Linked DNA regions of Homo sapiens: regions 1 and 3 are each linked to region 2. Evidence: promoter capture Hi-C in 16 types of primary human blood cells and fetal thymus (Javierre and others, 2016). All regions are on one chromosome and are shown on one strand. The core of a region is centred on a gene start or on the middle of the fragment in contact, and the rest is flanking DNA. Distances in the headings are between cores, read along the strand shown. Region 1 holds the start of HSD11B1-AS1 (HSD11B1 antisense RNA 1). Region 2 holds the start of G0S2 (G0/G1 switch 2). Region 3 overlaps TRAF3IP3 (TRAF3 interacting protein 3).

What was found. The method cuts DNA at HindIII sites, captures the fragments that hold promoters and counts their contacts. A CHiCAGO score of 5 or more calls a contact.
Region 1: a contact is called between a fragment that was not itself captured here and the fragment with the promoter of G0S2 in region 2, in 2 of 17 cell types (neutrophils and monocytes). The highest score is 11.0, in neutrophils.
Region 3: a contact is called between a fragment that was not itself captured here and the fragment with the promoter of G0S2 in region 2, in 2 of 17 cell types (neutrophils and monocytes). The highest score is 8.8, in neutrophils.

What each region holds. Positions count from the first base shown.
Region 1 is chr1:209,738,248-209,742,743 of GRCh38, forward strand. HSD11B1-AS1 (HSD11B1 antisense RNA 1) reads right to left here and starts at 4,315. Exons shown (of 3, transcript NR_134510.1): 1 at 4,250-4,315. The HindIII fragment of the contact is 5,906 bases long and covers 1-4,496 here.
Region 2 is chr1:209,674,152-209,678,440 of GRCh38, forward strand. G0S2 (G0/G1 switch 2) reads left to right here and starts at 1,261. Exons shown (of 2, transcript NM_015714.4): 1 at 1,261-1,398; 2 at 1,502-2,239. The coding sequence starts at 1,534. The coding sequence ends at 1,845. The region is part of intron 1 of HSD11B1-AS1 (HSD11B1 antisense RNA 1); the gene reads right to left. RefSeq lists an enhancer at 1,373-2,221. The HindIII fragment of the contact is 4,554 bases long and covers 824-4,289 here.
Region 3 is chr1:209,778,558-209,782,803 of GRCh38, forward strand. TRAF3IP3 (TRAF3 interacting protein 3) reads left to right here. Exons shown (of 17, transcript NM_025228.4): 14 at 758-817; 15 at 1,913-2,049; 16 at 2,788-2,901; 17 at 3,499-3,753. The coding sequence ends at 3,591. It overlaps C1orf74 (chromosome 1 open reading frame 74), which reads right to left. Exons shown (of 2, transcript NM_152485.4): 2 at 651-4,246. Among named protein-coding and RNA genes, the nearest start is that of C1orf74, 3.9 kb to the right of the region's middle. The HindIII fragment of the contact is 1,637 bases long and covers 1,737-3,373 here.

The sequences.
Region 1 (4,496 bases), core at 1,497-3,996, 66 kb after region 2:
ACCTTAATGTCTACCTATAGGGAAATGTTTAAATTATAGGAATTAAATTCAATATTATGAAATCACTGTGTCATGGTAACAAGGGATCAAGTCAATTTATATGTACATCCATGGAAGGAATTCCAAGGCATACTGTTAAGTGTATAAAACAAGTTGCTTAAAAAGATGCATAATATAATTCCATTTATGTTAATAAGTTATACACACACACACACACTCATGGAATGAGGATGTGTGGATTCCATGTGAATGGAATGGGGAAGCTAACTAGCATAAGGCACTATTGTAAGACCTGAGAAAATTAGGAACAGCTCTCTTCCAAGGAATACACCTGTGATTCTCAAACTGGCAGTGTTGCAAGTTGAACCGTGTCCCCAAAAAAGACATATTAAGTCTCTAATCCCTAAAACCTCAGAACATGATTTTATGTGGAAATAGATCATTCCAGATATAATTACTTAGGTGAAGACAAGGTTGCACTGGATTCAGGTGAGCAACATGACTAGCATCATTTTAAGAAGAAGGCCACATAAAGGCAGAGACACACAGGGACAACACCTTGTGATGACAGAGGCAGAGATGCAAGTGATGCAGTTGCAGGCCAAAGGACACCAAGGCTTGAAAACCCCTATCAGGAAGCAAGAAGAGGCAAGGAAGCCCTCTCCCCTACAGGCTGCAGTAGAAGTGTGGCCCTGTCAACAACTTGATTTCAGTATTCTAGCCCCCAGGACTGTGGATCAATAAATTTCTATTGTTTCAAGCCACTGCGTTTGTGGTACTTTCTTTGGCAGCCTTTGGAACCTAATAGAGGAAGTACTTTCTTTGGCAGCCCTAGGAACCTAATCCCTGTATTAGGGATCCCTAATACAGGGATATGTACCCCTTGCCCTGCTTCTCTTGGTGGCCCAAGATTATGATGTTATCATAATGTTATGATTATAATATTACCATAATCTTGGGCCACAAAGAGAAGCAAGGCAAGGGATACACATTCCTTGACCCAGAATTTTACTTCCAGGAATCCTGACATACAAATGTGATCTAATTAAAACAGAATCAAGTCATACCTCCATCAAAACCCATAATTATCCCATTCATTCTGAGTAAAGGCCAAAGTCCTTACAGAGACCTAAAAATCTTACATGATCTCGGTCCTCATTGGCTCTGAGACGGCATCTCCTTCTCTTCTCCCCTCATTGCTCAAGCACTCCAAGAGGCCTCGCTTGGCCTCCTATCTATTCCAGAGCATGCAAAATATGTTTCTACTTCTCTATACCACATGGCCAGCTGCCTTACTTCCTTCAGATTCATTCAAAAAGTTGCCTTTTCCTAGGCTAAGGACATGAATAGACAATTCTCAAAAGAAGATATACAAATGGCCAACAAACATGTGAATAAAATGCTCAACATCAGCCAGGCATGGTGGCTCATGCCTGTAATCCCAGCACTTCGGGAGGCTGAGTTGGGTAGATCACCTGAGGTCAGGAGTTCAAGACCAGCCTGGCCAACACGGTGAAACCCCATCTCTACCAAAAATACAAGAATTAGCCAGGCATGGTGGCAGCATCTGTAATCCCAGCTACTCAGTGGGCTGAGGCAGGAGAATCACTTGAACCTGGGGGGTGGAGGTTGCAGTGAGCCGAGATCACACCACTGCACTCCAGCCTGGGCAAGAGAATGAGACTCTGTCTCAAAAAAAAGAAAAAGAAAAAGAAAAAATCCTCAACATATCTAATGATCAGGGAAATGCAAATCAAAATCACAATGTGATACCACCTTACTCCTGAAGAAATAATCAAAAAAATCAAAAAATAATAGACATTGGCATGGATGCGGTGAAGAGGGAACACTTCTACACTGCTGGTGGGAATGTAGGCTAGTGCAATCACTATGGAAAACAGTGCGGAGATTCCTTAAAGAACTAAAAGTAGAACTACCATTTGATCCAGCAATTCCACTACTAGGTGTCTACCCAGAGGAAAATAAGTCGTTATACAGAAATGATATCTGCACATGCATGTTTATAGCAACACAACTCACAATTGCAGGAATGTGGAACCAACCCAAATGCCCATCAGTCAACGAGTGGATAAAGAAACTGTGATATATATATACACACACACACACACACACACACACACACACAATGGAATACTACTCATCCTTCAAAAGGAATGAATTAATGGCATTCACAGCAACTTGGATGAGATTGGAGACTATTATTCTAAGGGAAGTAACTCAGGAATGGAAAACCAAACATCGTATGTTCTCTCCTAAGTGGGAGGTAACCTATGAGGATACAAAGGCATTAGAATGACACAACAGACTTTGGGGGCTCAGGGGAATAGGGTGGGAAGGGGGTGAAGGATAAAATACTACAAACTGGGTTCAGTGTATACTGCTCAGGTGATGGGTGCACCAAAATCTCACAAATCACCACTAAAGAACTGACTCATGAAACCAAACACCACCTGTTCCCCAATAACCTATGGAAATTAAAAAAAAAATTTTTAGGTTGCCTTTTCAATGAAGCATTCCTTAGCCACCCTAAATAAAATTTCAAACCCACCCTGAAATGTTCTTTTTGTTTTGTTTTTTTGAGACAGGGTCTCTCTCTGTCACCCAGGCTGGAGTGCCAAGGCATGACACAGTTCACTCTAACCTCTACCTCCCGAGCTCAAGCAATCCTCCCACCTCAGCCTCCAGAGAGATGGGACCACAGGCATGTGCCACCATGCCTGGCTAATTTTTGTATTTTTTGTAGAGACGGGGTTTTGCCATGTTGCCCAGATTGTTCTCAAACTCGTAAACTCAAGATATCTACCCGCCTTGGCCTCCCAAAGAGCCGGGATTACAAGGATGAGCCACCATGCCAGGCCTGCCCTGAAATTTTATGTCTGCCTTCCCTGCTTGTTTTTTCTCCTTAGTACTTATTATTATCTATATTGTTGGTCATTTATCTTGTTTATTATCTGTCCTTGTCCCAGTTACTATGGTGACATAACAAATCATCCCAAAACTCAGTGGCTTAAAACATAAAATGACATTCGCTTCGCTTGCAAATCTGTAGTCTGAGCAGGCTCAGCAGGGATAGTTAATTTCTGCTCCACTCAGCAAGATTGGGTGGCTCAAAGGTCAGGAACTAGAATCACCTAAAAGCGTGATTGTGCCTGCCCTGGGAAGACATGAACAGCTGGACTCTGAAACAGGTAGGGCACTTTAGGTGCCTGGCTCCTTGGGCACCTGGAGCTAAGCAGGGAGGGCACAGCAGGAGTCTCTCTCATCTTTGTGTGATCTCTCCACATGGTCACTTGGAATGGCAGCTTTAGGGTTGCCAGACTGCTTGGAGGACTTGAGATCTCCAAAGGCAAGTGTCCCAAGAGAAAGAGCCAGGCAGAAGCTATATTGCCTTTCAGGACTGACCATACACTTTTGGTCGAAGCACTTCTGAAGATGCACCTCATTTCAAGGAAAAGGAATACAGACCCCACCTGTTGATGGAGGACTGTCATTGTCACATTGTAAGAAGAGCATGTGGGATGGATGGGCTAAAAATTGCTGCAGCCATCTTTAGAAAGTACCATCTGCCACATTCCCCCTGCTAGAATGTTGGTTTCATGAGGACAGGAGTTTTTTCTGTTTAGTTCAGTGTGCCCCCAGCACCTAGAGGAGCACCTGGCACATACGTGTGGGCCAGAGAAGATCATGAGGTATCTAGATGCAAGTGATAAACTGTTGTACCAGACCCAGAATCAGGAGCTTCTGAGGGTCACATAAACACAGGAAGAAGGCAGGTTTGCAGGAGCCAAGGCCCTGCAGATTGTCAAGAGGACAGGAGTGGGAGGGCTGATTAGGAGGTGAGGAAATGAGTACAGAGACAGAAACATGGTCAGGTGACAAATTGATAGCCAAAGTCAAGTTAAAATTAGTTTTTGCCTTTAGTCTGAACATGTAAGAGTTCTTCTTAGGCCCAAAGATATTGTAAGGTTTCAGCCCGTGTTCAGGATAAAGCAGCCTTTCTCTGATTCTGCTAATTTTGGGCTTATTCACCCCTCCATAGCATTAGGGGAGCAGAAGATATGAAAACTAATAGCCAGTATCTATGAGTTAATATTAAACGAAAACTTTGGTCTTTTCCAGGGCTGTGCTGACAAATGTTTAACAACTAACTCTCCAGAAAAAGAAGAAACAAAGCCTTAATTCGCTGATTTGTAGCATTTGCCTGTATCTATGATGTAAAGACTCTTACTGTGGCCAACTTCGAGTCACCAACAGGACATCACGGCATGTGGATTGGGAAGAGATGGACACCCCCGGCTCTCTCAAGCCTGTGTACTGGCTCCAGCACATCATCATGACTTTCACTTTCCACATTCCTGACAGAATTCGTTATTCTTAAGGAGACAGTTCACTCTCTCCTCCTCCAGGACTTGAAATCAAACTCTGATAACATGAGTCAAATTGGCGTTTTCTGTTTTTTGTTGTTTTTTTTTTCT
Region 2 (4,289 bases), core at 11-2,510:
AAGGCCTTTGGCCAATTTGCCTCTCCTTTTCCCCAAGTTTGCTAACCCTTTGGCCAATTTGCCTCTCTTTTTCCCCAAGTTTGCTAACTCTAGCATATCCATAACCAAAGCCAAACTAGAACGCTCCCTCAGCCCCAGGTGATTACAGCTAACCCTGGTCAAAATCAATCCTACATCTTCACACGTCCAAGAGTACTCACACTCTGGATTCTTACCTAAGCTGTCTACTACACGCCCTTCTGCCCACAAACTGCTTCAAAGCTGAAGTTGAGCTGGAGCAGTGAAGTTGTACCCCCAAACCCAGGAGGGTGGCAGAGAATTATTGAGGAGAGCATGAAATACTTCCATTCTAAAATGGCAGATGAACTTCTACCAACAGCCCCTTCCATACTTGACCCCCTACCCCCAAGCTCCCAACTCCACTTCTCAAGTGGAAGTGAGAACAATTTGAATTTGAAGGCTCTTCCCTGATACACGGAAGTACATAAGGAAACAGCTCGCAGGCAAAGAGACTAATCTCTCTCTCTTTCTCTCTCTCTCTCTCTCTCTCTCTCTCTCTCACACACACACACACACACACACACACACCTCTGTGCATAAAAGCACCATCAATGAATAGTTTTCTATCAACTGACTCTAGTTATACATGCATGTACCTCTAAATAAAACCAACCAGGCAGGAAAGAAACAATATTAGCACATATTGCTTTATCCAAGCGTAACCTGTTCTGTCCTGTTACCCAGATCCTTCCCCCTTGCCTTCTCCTCTCTGATCCATTGCCACACACGTGGGAAGGTGACAACCCTTCCGAATAAAAATGAAAGCTTTCTTCTTTAGATGGAACCCCCAAATTCCCTCATTATTTATAATGTCAGGCTGTCCTGGACAAGGGAAGCTGTGCACCCGCTGACACCAGTAAGAAGGTTGCCGCCATGTCAGAGATGTCCGCGGACACCTCCCTGGGCTCCGGGTCCTCCCCTGCGCTCGCCTGGAGTGGGACCTTCGCGTGCACACTGGCCTTCCCACGCGCCCCGCTGCGATGGCACCCGCGCCGGGCCCCCTAGCTCACACAGTCGGAGCGTGCTCAGCGCGTGGCCACCTCCTGCCAGGTCCCAGCCGGGTTCCACCCCCTCCTTTTCCCCTCCTCTTCTTCCTCCCCCTCCGAGTTCCCCTGGCTCTGACCGCGCTGGCCTGGGCCGGAGAGCCCAGGAGGCGTGTCTCAGAGAAAAGATATAAGCGGCCCCCGGACGCTAAAGCGGTGCCAGCGGCGGAGTCTCCAACTGGGAGAGCTGCAGCTGCCGAGAGGAGGAGAACGCTGAGGTCGGTCGGACCAACGGACGCGCTGACCGCTGCCAACTGCAGCTCGCGCTGCCTCCTGCTCGCGCCGTGCCACTAAGGTAGTCCGCCTTTCTATGAGCCCTCCCCAAGATTAGCTGGGTGCGGGGTGGTGGGAGCCGTTCTTTGGTGGCTGAAGCCCCTCTCCTGCTGCTCCTCCTGCAGGTCATTCCCGCCTCCGAGAGCCCAGAGCCGAGATGGAAACGGTCCAGGAGCTGATCCCCCTGGCCAAGGAGATGATGGCCCAGAAGCGCAAGGGGAAGATGGTGAAGCTGTACGTGCTGGGCAGCGTGCTGGCCCTCTTCGGCGTGGTGCTCGGCCTGATGGAGACTGTGTGCAGCCCCTTCACGGCCGCCAGACGTCTGCGGGACCAGGAGGCAGCCGTGGCGGAGCTGCAGGCCGCCCTGGAGCGACAGGCTCTCCAGAAGCAAGCCCTGCAGGAGAAAGGCAAGCAGCAGGACACGGTCCTCGGCGGCCGGGCCCTGTCCAACCGGCAGCACGCCTCCTAGGAACTGTGGGAGACCAGCGGAGTGGGAGGGAGACGCAGTAGACAGAGACAGACCGAGAGAGGAATGGAGAGACAGAGGGGGCGCGCGCACAGGAGCCTGACTCCGCTGGGAGAGTGCAGGAGCACGTGCTGTTTTTTATTTGGACTTAACTTCAGAGAAACCGCTGACATCTAGAACTGACCTACCACAAGCATCCACCAAAGGAGTTTGGGATTGAGTTTTGCTGCTGTGCAGCACTGCATTGTCATGACATTTCCAACACTGTGTGAATTATCTAAATGCGTCTACCATTTTGCACTAGGGAGGAAGGATAAATGCTTTTTATGTTATTATTATTAATTATTACAATGACCACCATTTTGCATTTTGAAATAAAAAAACTTTTTATACCATATCTCATGTAATTCCTGAGAGGTGTGGTGTCCTGGGGTGGGAAGCAGGGAGGGTGAGCAGGTGGGCGATGGTGATGGGTTCTTACCTGAGCACTGCAGAGGGAGCAGCTTCCTGAGGGTCAGACACTTGCTTCACACCTAGGAACTGTGTAATAAGTTACTACATGCATATAAGTCTGTTGAGGACTTGTTTTTCCTTCTTGTTAGGGGTGGGAAGAGAGAAAATTTTATAACTTCCGTGAGATTTAGCATTTTAACATCAAAAGGTAGATCAACTTCTGAGCTACAGTGAGTAGGAGATAACTGATTAATTCTAAGGCAGAAAAGCTCTTTGTTCCTTACACCTGTGCACCAGAGGTTCCCATGGCTGATACCTTTTTCTTCCCAACTATATTTTAGACAGACAGACAGAGAGAAGGAAAGAAAATGAAGGAGGGAGGTCTGGAGGTGAAGGGAAGGAAAGAAAGGAAAAACTATCTACCTGGCAGGAAAAGAGATAAGCTCCCAAGAACACCAAAGCAGATGATGAGTCTAGCTCTACCCAGCCTTCCTCCCCACGAATCCAGATCATAGTAAGAAACTCTGGGCTAGAAAGAGAAAAAAACCGGTTGTTACATATCTGAGTCCTCCTCCTCCAGTGTACAGAGCTTCATCTGTAGTAATAGCTAATTCAGTGACTCTATAGGGCTCAGCAAAACAAATTTTAAACTTTAAAGAAGTAGCCAGGAGCCAGAGGCATGGCCTTGATGCTAGTCTCCTCACATTTTTCATGTCACCTGTCCTAATCAGGTACTGACACTTTACTCCTTTCATCAACAGCTATGCATTTTTGCCAAACATATCACTGGCTCACACCATTGCCTCTGCTCAGACTCTCTCCTTCGTCCAATGCCCTACACACATCTCCATTTCATTTCTGCCAACTCAATTCCTACCAAGTGTTCCTGGCCCTGATCAAAAGCCATCTCTTTCTGAAATCTATTCTTATCACTCCCAAAGGAAAAAAGCAATCAGAATGTGGTAAGATTAATCAAGGAAAAGAAACATATTTGGAGTTTTAAAGGAAAAGAATGTCAGTGGCACCATGGCTCTCCCAGTTTCCAAAATGGGAAATTCAGCCCTATACCAAGGCAGAGCCTCACTTTCAATGTCCAAGAAACTTCCTAGGAACTGACTCAATTTTATCCTTCCTGCTGGTCTTCCAAAATGCCTCTTTTATTAATTACTCCTTTACCCATTCAGTTACCACCTTGTCTGGCTCTCAACCGCTCAAGCCACCCCCTGCACCTTCTAGCACATTCACCCTAAACAATCCCTTGTCAGACTGTCTTCCTTTAATATCTTTCATTCTGCTGCTCCTGAACTCAAAAACATCTGAGACTAAAACTCTTATGCCAGGTTTCAGTGCCTCTGTGATGTGCTTCCATCACAGCTGGCCGTCTTGCCTGATTTGTCAGGGTGCCTAGCATGAACCCTGGTCCTTGCCTGTTTCCTTCTGGTTTTCTGCACCTTCATTTACATTACTCTTCCAACCCGAATTTCCAACCCGAATGTCCTCCCACCCACTACCTCCACATCTTCTGAAACCACATACCTCAAATTCTCCAAGGAAGGTATGATTTCAAATACAGGTATTTTGCCCATTGTCAAAATACATGTAAAATTGTGTGCTCTGATTTTTGAGATGGAGTCTTGCTCTGTCACCAGGCTGGAGTGCAGTGGCACAATCTTGGCTCACTGCAACCTCTGCCTCCTGGGTTCAAGCGATTCCACTGCCTCAGCCTCCCGAGTAGCTGGGACTACAGGCGTGTACCACCATGCCCAGCTAATTTTTTGTATTTTGGTAGAGATGGGGTTTCACCATGTTGGCCAGGATGGTCTCAATCTCCTGACCTCATGATCCGCCTGCCTCAGCCTCCCAAAGTACTGGGATTACATGATTTTTTATTTAGAGGGTAACGCCTATGTTTTGAAAGGTTGCCTATACATAAAAAAATAAAGTTCCCTAAATATATAAGTATGCCTATATGTTTTTGTGTAGAAGGAAATTCC
Region 3 (4,246 bases), core at 1,305-3,804, 110 kb after region 2:
ATCCACTTCAAAACTACATATTGGGCCCAAAGAGGAAAAGGGACTTCTCAGAAGAAAAGCAGTTTCTGAAAAGCTGGAGAACCTGACTCAATTAATACAGCTGCTGGTTGCCCACCACTTTAACCTCTGACACCTGATAGAGAAGCTTCATGAAAGCAGCAATGATTATTAAGAGAGCAAAGCAACCACAGGGAAAAGGGAAAATCTTCAAGCAAAGACTTGAAGATAGAGACATGGTAGGGGGAGATATAAGGATGCTATATTCATAGCAAAGTACCACAGACTGGGTGCCTTGAAGAACAGAAATGTATTGTCTCACAGTTCTGGAGACTAGAAATCCAAGATGTCAGCAGGGTTGTTTCCTTCTGAGGGCGTTTAGGGAAAGATCTATCCCAGGGCTCTTTCCTTGGCTTTGTAGATGGCCGTCTTCTCTCTGTGTCTCTTCACATTGTCTTTCCCATGAACATATCTGTGTCCATATTTCCCCTTCTTATAAGGACACCAGTGATATTAGATTGGGGCCCACCTGAATGACCCCATTTTAACTTGATTATCTTTTAAAGAATCTATCTCCAAATAAGGTCATTATTTAAGGTACTGAGGGTTAGGACTTCAACATATATATTCTGGGGGACAAAATTCAACACACAGCAGATGGGAACATATTTAATAACCAAGGTTCTAAGCAAAGTTCTGAAAAGAAAACTTTTTGTAGTAAATATGCTAGCATAGACAAGTTCCTTGTGTTTTCCAACAGGTTTGCTTCAAAATCAATCCTTACAGCTTCAAGAACAGGAGAAACTCTTAACAAAGAAAGGTCAGCAAATTTATTACCACAAATTCTAAGATATTGCTCTTCTCTTACCTGCCTAGAGGCAGCGGGATGGACTACATGACCTCCTGGAGTCCCAGCCAGTTCTGGGAGTCTGTTAAGTCCGGGATGTGTGGGAGCTTTTTAAGGACTGATCATTGGCTCTGAGGACACTTCAACTAGTTAGCCTTCTATCTTGAGGTATATAAACTGTGAAAAAGGGTTTCTATTCTCTCTGAAAGCACATGTCTGTGTTGAACATTTCAATAAATTTATTTTGAACTCAGGATTTCATGTCAATTTTTACACACTTGATTTTCCAAATCACATCCAACTCCCCAGCCCCAAACCACATAGCAGTCCAGAGTCAACTCACTGTTAGCCCTAGAGAGTCTACTGTCCATGTTTCCTGAGAATTCACTGTGTATACAGAGGGGCAATAGCTCCTCACCTGTCCACTACACACGACCTTTTGTTTTCTCTTCACAATCATTGGGCATAATATAATAGATAAGGCAGAAATTTTTATGCTCACAGAGTATGGATAAGAACATGAAAGTCTATGGTGACACAAACTAACAACACAGCTATAACAACAATCCAAAACTTCTGACTCCTAGTCCATGCTCTTTTCACCAAGACTAAGACTGCAGGGTGGCTAAAAAACCATCTTTAACCATATGAAGATAAATTTTAGGATATGACTGCCATCTTCACAACTTTCAAATGAGGACATCAGGGAAAAGGGATTGTATTAAAGCATTTACCAAACTTATTTGACAAACTAGGAAGAATGTGACATACAACCAATGAAATTCAATTAAGAAGTATTCACTAAAACTATCTAGCACTAGATAAGACTGGGGATACAAAGAAAAGATCCCAATCTTGCCCTCAAGGAGCTCAGATTCCAGCTGTCTGTCCAAGCTTAGCAGGGGCCTACTGGAAGTTAACCTTTATGTCAGAGAATGCCATCAGTCTAGCCAAGAGCACGCCCTCCCAAGTTCCCTCCCCTCTCCCCACTCCTAGTGGTTTCACCCTCAGGGCCCTTCCTCAGAGGTGTGGGCCTCACTGTCACCAAGAATCTGGCTGCTTTTTTAGATCAGGCTTTGCCCGTGTGGAGTCCAAAGTCCTTCCCTAACGAAGTGGAGCCTGAGGGTACAGGGAAGGAGAAAGACTGGGATCTCAGAGACCAGCTGCAAAAGAAGACTTTGCAGCTCCAGGCCAAGGAAAAGGAGGTGAGAGGGTGACCTGAGATAGTGAGGGCTCATTTGCGAAATAGCAGAGAAACCTGGGAGGCAGTCAAAAAGCAGGGATTTCAAAGTTTAAGTTGTGAGTGGATAACCACAGACATTCATTTGCCTACATAAAGTGTCTGTGCTTTTGGGCTGACTTGTCAATCTTTTCCCTTCCTTATTTATACCAACTCCTATTCAAGGTTTTATTAAATGATTACCTTTTAGAAAGTCGACCAAAACTCAAACACATTTAATAAAAATATTAACTTCTCAATATGTCGTCCCACATTGAGTATCTTAAGTCTTTATATGTCTCTTAAAGAGTAAAACTCTTCCTTTGTACATACTCACAAACATACACATCCCCAGAAGTATTGATATGCAACTAGCTCCTGGGAAAGAAACTTGTACTAAGGTCACTTCTAGGTCGTTTGTTCTATAAGAACTTCATTTTTCGGTGTCTCTCATTTGCAAAGCACTTGCACGTAAAGTCATATAAAAGAACTTAAATGTATAAAATGTAATACTATAATATGCATTACTGTCAATCATTTAAATGAACACATTCCAGACAATGTAAGACAGTCAAAAGACAAACTCAAATCCCTGAGAATGGCTGGGAAGGGAAGATGGTGGTAAAAATTCCAAATGAGTGAAACTTACAAAGGGCAGTCTCCCCTGCCTGGGCTCTGTCCTAGACAGAAGTGACAGTGATGACTTTGGTGATGTTCTCCCCAGTGCAGAGAACTGCATTCAGAATTAGACAACCTCAGTGACGAGTATCTCTCCTGCCTGCGTAAGCTGCAGCACTGTCGAGAAGAGCTGAACCAGAGCCAGCAGCTGCCTCCCAGAGTAAGAGGGTCTCTCCTTCCCATAAAGCCCTGGATGATGGGACGATTCCTTCTTTAACCAAGTTTTGCACATAAAATATATCAGCCCACGCCAACAACTGGCCATCCTGTCCCACTGTGCTTGGTTTATACTATACTGACATTATGGCAACCATTGAAAAAAACACTGGCTCGTCCATCAAAGCCCAACTTTCACAGAACTCTCAATGCCAGAAGGAAAGACTTACTCTTAGCTAAAGTATGAAAGGGTGTTCTTTTAGCCGATGATAAGCATGGTGGCAAGAACAGAAGGACACAAAAGTACTGGGGAATACAAAGAAAGAATATAATTTTGCTGGGTTATTTTCCACCCTTCATTATTCATATCAGTATTTATATATCTGGTCCCTGATGGATACGGCTCCCTGGGCCAGAGAACATTGGTTAAGTGGTTTTATCCCAAGACAGGTGACAAAATGGGAGACAGAGTAAAAAGCTTTTTCTCCACCACCAACCCAGCGTTTTCCACTGGGCTAGAGTAGGAAGAAGAAAGATTTTTGCCTATATCTTTTCCAATCCACTCATGGCCACTTTCTTCTGTCTCCCTGTCCCCCTACAGAGGCAATGTGGGCGATGGCTCCCAGTGCTGATGGTGGTGATTGCTGCAGCACTGGCAGTGTTCCTGGCCAATAAAGACAACCTGATGATCTGAATAATTTGTGACAACTGCCTTGGGTGAAAATCAGAAGCAAGCAACTCAGCGAAAAACTCAGAAGGTTTGGGTACATTACAGCTTGGGTTTTCCAACTGACTTAGGATTTCTGACTTTTTATTAATTTCTTAACCTACTGTAAATAAACTTCACCTGACCAGATTGTTCCTCAGAACTCTCAGTTTATTCCTGAATGGTGTATTACATTAACAAGTATCACATATTTAAGCATACTGGTGGTCTACTCTCCTCAAATTCAGTTGGAGGCATATAAACATGCAGAAAAGCCCCCAGCCCTACTTTCCTAGCATGCAGCACCCACATAGAGCAGGTATATTTACAAGGTTACCATGCAAGAGTGTTTGGCTTGTCTTCCATCACCCTGCTTTTCCTCTATCATCTCCTTCCTTCTATCTTTTATCCAGTGAAAATGAAAACATCTCCACTAAGAGGACTTCCTAGTATAGAAATGGCAAGTATGTACTATCTACCAATTTGCTACTAGCACCACCATTACCTATTTACATGCCCTTTGCATTTGTGGCCAACTGATCTACAGCATTGTGCCTTAGTGTATTCAAGACACTTGGAATTGGCAGTTGAGATGATTATTTGCCATCCCCAACCTAGAGATGATCATTTACTGAGTACCTTC